Linked DNA regions of Homo sapiens: all the other regions are linked to region 1. Evidence: promoter capture Hi-C in 16 types of primary human blood cells and fetal thymus (Javierre and others, 2016). All regions are on one chromosome and are shown on one strand. The core of a region is centred on a gene start or on the middle of the fragment in contact, and the rest is flanking DNA. Distances in the headings are between cores, read along the strand shown. Region 1 holds the start of CNTRL (centriolin). Region 2 holds the start of RAB14 (RAB14, member RAS oncogene family). Region 3 has its middle 23 kb from the start of GSN.

What was found. Contacts are between HindIII fragments. The CHiCAGO score rates a contact against its expected background, and 5 or more counts as called.
Region 2: a contact is called between a fragment that was not itself captured here and the fragment with the promoter of CNTRL in region 1, in 9 of 17 cell types (total B cells, naive B cells, naive CD4 T cells and 6 more). The highest score is 8.8, in total B cells.
Region 3: a fragment that was not itself captured here is called in contact with the fragment with the promoter of CNTRL in region 1 in 1 of 17 cell types (total B cells); the score reaches 5.2 in total B cells.

The regions. Positions count from the first base shown.
Region 1 is chr9:121,073,643-121,076,342 of GRCh38, reverse strand. CNTRL (centriolin) reads right to left here and starts at 1,388. Exons shown (of 44, transcript NM_007018.6): 1 at 1,276-1,388. It also overlaps a transcript of C5 not described here. RefSeq lists silencers at 984-1,123, 1,244-1,303, 1,928-2,124 and an enhancer at 1,424-1,813. The HindIII fragment of the contact is 4,047 bases long and covers 416-2,700 here.
Region 2 is chr9:121,201,526-121,204,225 of GRCh38, reverse strand. RAB14 (RAB14, member RAS oncogene family) reads left to right here and starts at 2,357. Exons shown (of 8, transcript NM_016322.4): 1 at 2,357-2,587. It also overlaps a transcript of GSN not described here and the pseudogene RN7SL181P. RefSeq lists enhancers at 1,776-1,935, 2,206-2,425, 2,244-2,700 and a silencer at 2,436-2,700. The HindIII fragment of the contact is 7,258 bases long and covers 1-2,700 here.
Region 3 is chr9:121,244,051-121,246,750 of GRCh38, reverse strand. It overlaps a transcript of GSN not described here. Among named protein-coding and RNA genes, the nearest start is that of GSN, 23 kb to the left of the region's middle. The HindIII fragment of the contact is 2,069 bases long and covers 398-2,466 here.

The sequences.
Region 1 (2,700 bases), core at 139-2,638:
TCTTCTTCTGCTCAGATACCCTAAAACTCAAGCTTCCCATCTCTTTCCATTAATTATTCAATTTTATTGAGCAACTTTTATGTAGGAAGAACCATGCTAGAATCTAAGCTCAAGATGCAGAAGATTTTATCTCCCTATTACCCATGATCTCTGCACCAAGCAGTCTCCTTCATAGCATTTTATAACCATTATTTGTGAAACTACTTGGTTGTTGCCTGTTTCTCCTTCTAGACTATAAGCTACAAGAGAGCAGAGGTTTTGTCTGTTGTTCTATAAACAATAAATATTTGTTGACTGAAGGACTGTACTAAACACTTAGACAATACCAAATTTAAATCCTCAAAGATTTAGCTGTATAGGATCAGAATTATTAACCTGATTTACAAATGGCAATGTACCTGAACAGTTAAAAGCTTGGATTCTGGAACGAAACAGCCTGAGTTCAAATTCTGATTTTCCACTTACTGTGTGATCTTAGGCAAATTACTTAACCTCTCTGGTCCTCAGTGCTATCACTTTTTAAATGGGGATGATAACCTCATACAAGTTATTTTAAATTCTAAATGAGGTTAATACGTGCAAAGTGCTTAAAACTGGATCTGACAAATAGTGAACACCCAAAAATGATTCGCAATTATTTGGACAAATGAGGAAACATGATCAGGAAGGCTCAGACACATATCCAGGGTCACAGACCTGGTTAAGTTACACAAGGTGGCAGAATTGAGGCTTCAACCCAAGTTTGTCTGGCTTCAAAATTCTCTAGTCCCTTAACGAATATAACGGAAGTGTTTGTTCTTCCCCTTCTTTTAGCATTTCGTCCCCATATCCTGTCATCTTTCTCCACGCACTGTACTCCGTCCGATACCGTGACAACCCGTCAGGACGCCCAAACTGTCCTTTCTCCCGCTCACTCCCCACAGACAGCTGGCACATCCCAGCTCTCCCCTCAGCTCAGGTGGCAGGACCCACAACCTTCTGGGCGCCGCACCCTAACTTCCACACCTCCCCACACTCTGGTTCTTCATCCCCAATCGCCCCCGCCGTCCCCACCTCTTCCCATCCAAACCTCCCTCCTTCATCCACCGCCCCACGCCCGTTCCGGGCCCTCCCCTCTTTCCCGTCCAATCCCAATTCCCAGACACGCGCCCCCGCCCCGAATCCATCCCAAGCCGGCCCACACCACGCCCGGTCCGGGCCTTCCCGCCTTTGCCGCCGGCCCCCACTGCTCGGGCCGGATGCCGGGGAACGGGCTCGGCCAGGTCTGACGCTCACCGCCTAGAAGCCGAGCCGAGCAGTCCCGCAGGCTGAGGTAGAGCGGGAGAAGTTCGGGCTCTTTCCTCAGGGGCCCAGCGGCGCGGCAGCCATTTTGTTGTGTTGTGCCGGTTGCCGAGGGGCCGCGCGCGCGTGGTCGGGGCTAGTCTCAGCCACGCCCCTCTCCCTCTCCGGTACTGTTGGAAGGGACGCGGAGGCGTTTCCCGCCTCTTTTGCAGCCAGCGCGCTAGGATGCCGGGGAGTCTTGGGCGCGAGGCTTCCGGCCGCGCGGGGCCGACGGGATGCGGTGCCTTCGCCTTCGGATTGCGTTGCAGGTGAAGTGTCGGGTGCAGAGTCAGGGGGAGCCGAGGTTTCATGCGGCAGCTGCCCGCAGTGCTGTGGCCTTCGCTGAGACAAAGCTGCCGCCGCCACCCTCTGAAACACGGACACGCTTCTCAGGGCCTGTGTCCGAGGACGGCCTGAGGCACCGGCGCAGCGCCTCCCCGGCCTCCCCCACTTCTGATGCTTGCGCGCTATGAGCGAGTGTTCTTATCAGCACACTTCTCTCTGACAGTCGTATCTAAAGCGAATTCCCTCCAGGGACCGAACTGCCCAGGCTCGGATGAACCTCAAAGCGGACGCAGCCTGGGCTCCAGCTGTCGCGTGAGGTTCAGGGAGCTTGGGAATCCTAGGCAGAGGATGTTCCTCTGATTGCTACAAGGGAGTTAAAGCAAGAAGCACTTGCACAGGCTTCATCTGGGGCTTGCCCATGAGCACGGCGTTCACGACATGCATTCAACAGATATTTTAAAGAATTTAGCAGATACTGGGCTGGATGCTAGGGAAACACTGAAGTTTTTTTTAAAGTGTTATCACCATTGACGCCTTTCACTCCAGTAGCCTCCCGTTTTGAAGGTATACCCTGGACCATGTTACCATCAGAGGCTGCACCCGCTCCAGAAATCCCCAGTGCAATCGCTCCCCATCCTTGACTATAATCCTATCATCTTAGCAGCGTGCCTGCTCAAAAGACCCCTATGCCAGCGTATTTCTAAACTTCCTTGCGTCTTCCAGTCCCTTGTTCTTACCATTTTCTCGCGATCATTCTATCCTGTCTTCATTTCCTTTCTTCACTACAGAGTTTATAGGCCACCTGTATAACACTTTTAGAAACTCCCTCTCTCTCTGTGTCTCAGTTTCCTTATCTATGAAATGAGGTCCTTTTACCTATTAACACTTCCTACAGTTTTCCTGATAATTATAAAAGTGAATCCTGGCCGGGCGCTGTGGCTCATGCCTGTAATCCCAGCACTTTGGGAGACCAAGGTGGGAGGATCACTTGAGGTCAGGAATTCAAGATCAGCCTGGCCAACAAGGTGAAACGCCGTCTCTACTAAAAATACAAAAATTACCCGGGCGTGGTGGCGCACGCTTGTCATCCCAGCT
Region 2 (2,700 bases), core at 1-2,500, 130 kb before region 1:
TAAAATGGGGTAAATATAGTACTGACTTCATGCGGATGTGGTAAGGATTAAATGAGAAAATATGCATGATTCTTAGGACAGTTGCTGGTACATAGTAAGTGTTGAATAAACATCAGCTATACATAAAGATCTCCCTTCAGGTGATAATGGCTATAAGGAAACTTACTAGCCAGGTCTAAGTTCATACCTGGGCAATTAATGATCATTGGTTCACAGTTTTCTCCTTTACTTGGCACAGGCAAATTTCTTAGTTTCAAAAATGTTAAAGTGTGACAACAAACTATACTTATTAAAGAATGTGGAAATAGAAGCCTAGACCTCTAGGGTTGCAAAAGGATTTCAATATCACCTTAGATTAGATTATCATGTAATAATCATTTCCATTTCTTATTATATACCAGATATTTTGCATATACTATCCCATTTAATTTTCACAAAGACCTATTTGAGAGAGATATTACTATTTTCATATTGCAGAAAAGACTGACAATCTCAGAAATCAAGTGACATGCACAACTGCATACCATTAGATTATAGAGCAGGAATTCGAACCCAGGTCTCTGAAAATATGAGATGTACAAACTGGCACACACTTTTACAGTGAAATCTCACTTGTTCATGGCAGAACCAGTTCATAAAAGGTCCTGAACGCTAAGAGAAAGATTGATTTAATTTGGGGGTGGGGAACTAAGGCAGGGCCACCTTATCCATTAGGCACAGTACAGTATGCACAGGGCTTAGGGCCTCCAATACTTTTAGGGGCCAACAAAAATGAATATTTATTTATTTTAGAGACAGGGTCTCCCCATGTTGCCCAGGCTGGAGTGCAGTGGCTGTTCACAGGTATGATCCCATTACTGATCAGCACGGGAGTTTTGACCTGCTCCATCTCCGACCTGGGCCGGTTCATCCCTCCTTAGGCAACCTGGGTGGTCCCTCCCTCCTGAACTTAAGTGCAGACACTCTATCTAGTGACACAGTGCACTACAGCCCAGAACTCCTGGGCTCAAGCGATCCTCTCTCCTCAGCCTCCCCAGTAGCTAGGATTACAGGCGCAGACTACCAGCCCTCCTTGCTTACGTTCCTTTTTTTTTTTTTTTTGAGACAGTCTCGCTCTGTTGCCCAGGCTGGAGCGCAGTGGCGCGATCTCGGCTCACTGCAAGCTCCGCCTCCCGGGTTCACGCCGTTCTCTTGCCTCAGCCTCCCGAGTAGCTGGGACTACAGGCGCCCGCCACCACGCCCGGCTAATTTTTTTGTATTTTTAGTAGAGACGGGGTTTCACCGTGTTAGCCAAGATGGTCTCGATCTCCTGACCTCGTGATCCGCCCGTCGTGGCCTCCCAAAGTGCTGGGATTACAGGCGTGAGCCACCGCGCCCGGCCGGCTTACATTCTTTTAAAGTCAGAAGAAAAAAATGAACTTTCAGGTCAGAGAAAATATTTTGTTATATAATATTGATACGTCATGTTTATATCAATGCAGTTGTAAAATATGTTAAATATTTATACATATATTTAACTTACATGTGTGTGAAATATATGTGTGTGTGTAATGTACAAGCCACAAGGCAAAAGTGCTCAGGGTCCAAGAAAGTCAAAACGTGTCCCTGCACCCGAAAAGCACGAAACCTTCTGGGGCAGTGATTATGGCAGAGCAAGTTGGAAGATGGCAGGTGGTAGACAAATTGTGAAAAATATCACATTTCTCTCACCCTGTCAAAGGCAACCCCAAAGTGAAGTCAAAATAGAGATGAAATGCAGGGTCACTTCCTAGCTGCGTGATCTTGGACAAGAGAGTTGACCAACCTGAGCCTCAGTTTCTCCATGGATACAATGGGGATGCGTGCCTCCGACGTTTGTTGGACAGGACCGGTATATACGAAGCATACAGCGGTATATACAGTAAATGCCCCCATAAATACACGTTGAATGAATGCAGTAAATGCATGCTTAGCATGGTGGCCAGTATACGGTAAGCGTCCAATAAGTGGTAAATGTTGGCTTTAAAAATTGTTCAAAAGTCTCCACGAGCGACAACCCTAGTTCTCCAAGACGCAGGCGCACCCCACCAGGTTCCACGCAGACCTGCGCAGTAGCTCCCCCAAGAGGCGAGGACACGCGACTGCGCTTGCGCATACGCGCTTTCCACCTTCCCTCCGGGCGCGAGCGCCCGTGGGGCGGGCCTCAGCGGCGGCGCGACAAGTCCAGAGGTGAGGGCTGAGGAAGGGGCGTGGCTAGCGGGCTGGCCTCAGCCACCCTCTTCCGGGCTCCGCCAGCTGCGCGCGCATCTTCTCCCCCTTCTTTTGTGGTCCGGCCCATTGCGAGGGTGACAGGAAACCCTGTGCAGGGAGCGCCGCCATCTTGGACCAGCCCGAGGAAGATACTGAGGGAGCACAGGAGCAGTCACCGCTGCCACTGCTACTGCCGCTACTGCTGCCGGCGCGTCTGCACCTCTCGGCCTGCCAGTGTACCTGCCGGCGCCTCGGTCGACCGCCCCCGCCCCCTCTCCCGCTGCGTCCGCACTCCTGTTCCTGGTCCTGACGCCCCCCTCCCGCCCGGAAAGCTGCCCAGCCACCAGCAACCCCCCAGGTAACCCGGGCCTTCCGTAGTGTCCGGCCGGCTGATACCTCCTCGCGCCGGGTTCTTCAGAGGGGCGTGTGTGGGGACGGTGGAGACTGGGCCGCAGGCGGGCGGCGCCCCGG
Region 3 (2,700 bases), core at 183-2,682, 170 kb before region 1:
CCATGATGTGGGCTGGAAAATGAAGGAAGCTGGTCTGCAATGAGAGGGTGGTGATAGACAGTCATGGTAATGCTGAAGAGCGGCGATGAGAGCTGGAGAAAGGATATGGAGGGACCTGATATTGTGAACTATGTTCTTCATGAGTCTTGGTGGCACTTCTGTCCTAGAATTCTGAATTTCCATAATAAATCTCTAAATTTTGCCTAAACTATGCTAAGGTTTCTATTAGTTGCAACCAAAAAAGTCTCATGAATATACATGGATAAACCCTAGTTTCAATATTTGTGTCCATGATAATTGCCTCATTTTCGCATTAACTAGCTTTATAATTAAGTTAAGAAATTTGAATTCATAGAAATGGAATACCTATCAAATTGGATGCTTTAGGCCTCAAGCTTGCTCTTTCATTCTCACAAAGTGACTGCAGCAGCTCTGAGCATAGCATCCTCAGACAACTATCTTCACATCTCCTTTTTAAAAAAAAAACTTTTTTATTATGGAAAATGTTAAAACCACTCAAATGTAGAAAGAGTAGTATAATGATCCTAATGTGCCCACCACCCAGCTTTTACAATTGCCACTAAATACTCATCCTGAATCATCTACGTGTTCACATACCTTTCCTTTCCCTGCCCTCAGATAATTTTGAGGCAAATCTTAGATATATTATTTCTTCTATAAATATTTCAGAATATATCTCTAAAAGGTACAAGTTCTTTTTAAAAAATACAATACCATTATCACAGTTTAACATATTGACAATCATTTCTGAGTTTCAGTAAATATACTATAACATTTATATTTCTCTGGTTGTCTTTTAAATGCGTTTTTCAAGCTGGGCACGGTGGCACACATCTGTAGTCCTAGCTACTCAAGAGGCTGAGGCAAGAGGGTCACTTGAGCCCAACAGTTCAAGGCTATAGAGAGCCATGATTGCACCTGTGAATAGCCTCTGCACTCCAGCCTGGGCAACTTAGCAAGACCTCGTCTCTTTTTTAAAAAGTGTTTTTCTTTTCACAGTTTACTTGAATTTCAATTATTTTTAGTAGGCATAGCTAGGAGATGTATATTGTTTTCTAAAGATAAAAGGGACAAAGCTCAGTGGTTCATGCCTATAATCCCAATTCTTTGGGAGGCCGAGGCAGGAGCATCGCTTGAGCTCAGGAGTTTGAGACCAGCCTGGGCAACAAAGTGAGACCTTGTCTCTAATAATATGTTTTTAAAAAATTAACTGGGCATGGTGGTGCACACCTGTAGTTCCAGCTACTAGAGGGGCTGAGGCATGAGGATTGCTTGAGCCCAGGAGGTCAAGGCTGCAGTGAGCCCTGATCATGCCACTGCACTCCTGCATGGGTGACAGAGTGAGACCCTGACTCAAAATGAAAGAAAGAAAGAAAGAAAAGGTATAATGCATCCATACTGATACTTCCAATTGAAGTGGAGGACTATAGACTTTTTGCTCAATCTTATCAATCTTAGATTTATATCTCCTATCAACTATGCCAAATATCTTAATTTTTAAGGACATCAACATAATTATTATTTTCATCCTGTAATACACAGCTCTTTTTGCCAGATATAGTCTTCTAGGAGTATAGAATCGAATGATAGTGATTTAAGGTCACTAAAGTCTTCTTTGTGTGGTTACGTCATCAACTGGACACACAGGGTCATTTTAATTTAACATTATTTTTACTTTCTAGGAATTTGATTTTTTCTTAATTTTGCATGTAATTACATAAAATGTTTACATTGTTCCAAAGTTAAATCTACTTTTTTTTTAGAAGCTAGCTTCTAAAGCTATATTTTTAGAAGCCTAGCTTCCATCCCTGTACCTTCCTTTCTATTCTTTCCCTTTTGCTATGGGAATATTTTATTAAATTTTTATAGTTTTTCTCTTATTTGTAGATAAATGATTGCATACTATACATACTTTTCTCTTTTTACTTAAAAATATATCCTGGAGATCACACATAGTAGTGGAGTAATTTCTTGTCCCTTGTAGTAGCTGCATAATACTTCATTTGGGGGATGTACCATCATTTATTCAATTAGTTTTCCATCGATTAAAATTTGAGTTTCCATTTTCTTGCTATTACAAATAGAGCTGCAGTGGCTAGCCTTGCACATGCACCTTTTTATATTTTTGCTACTGCATATTTGTGATAGCTATCTAGAAGTGGGATTACTATACCACTGCCTACCTCTCAGAATGGCTAAAATTAAGAGAAAGAAAACTGACAATGCTAAATGCTGATGAGGTTGTGGAGCAACTGGAACTCTCATACATTACTAGTGGGAATGCAAAATGGTGCAGCCACTTTGGAAAACATTTTGCCAGTCTCTTATAAAATGTAACATGCAATATATTTATAATACGGCCAACAATCCTTTTCCTACATATTTACTCAAGAGACATGAAAACATATTTTCACATTTGTCTGTACCTGAACATTTATAGAAGCTTTATTCATAATCACCAAAAACTAGAAGCAATTCAAGTTTCTTTCATCTGATGAATACATTGTGATACATCTATTTAATCTAATTGCTACCCAATGATAAAAAGGAACAAACTTCTGACCCACTACAACATGGATGAATTTCAAATGCACTGTGCTAAGGGAAAGAAGCCAGATTTAAAAAGCTACATATGCTATGATTCCATTTATACATTCTCAAAAAGACAATATTACAGGG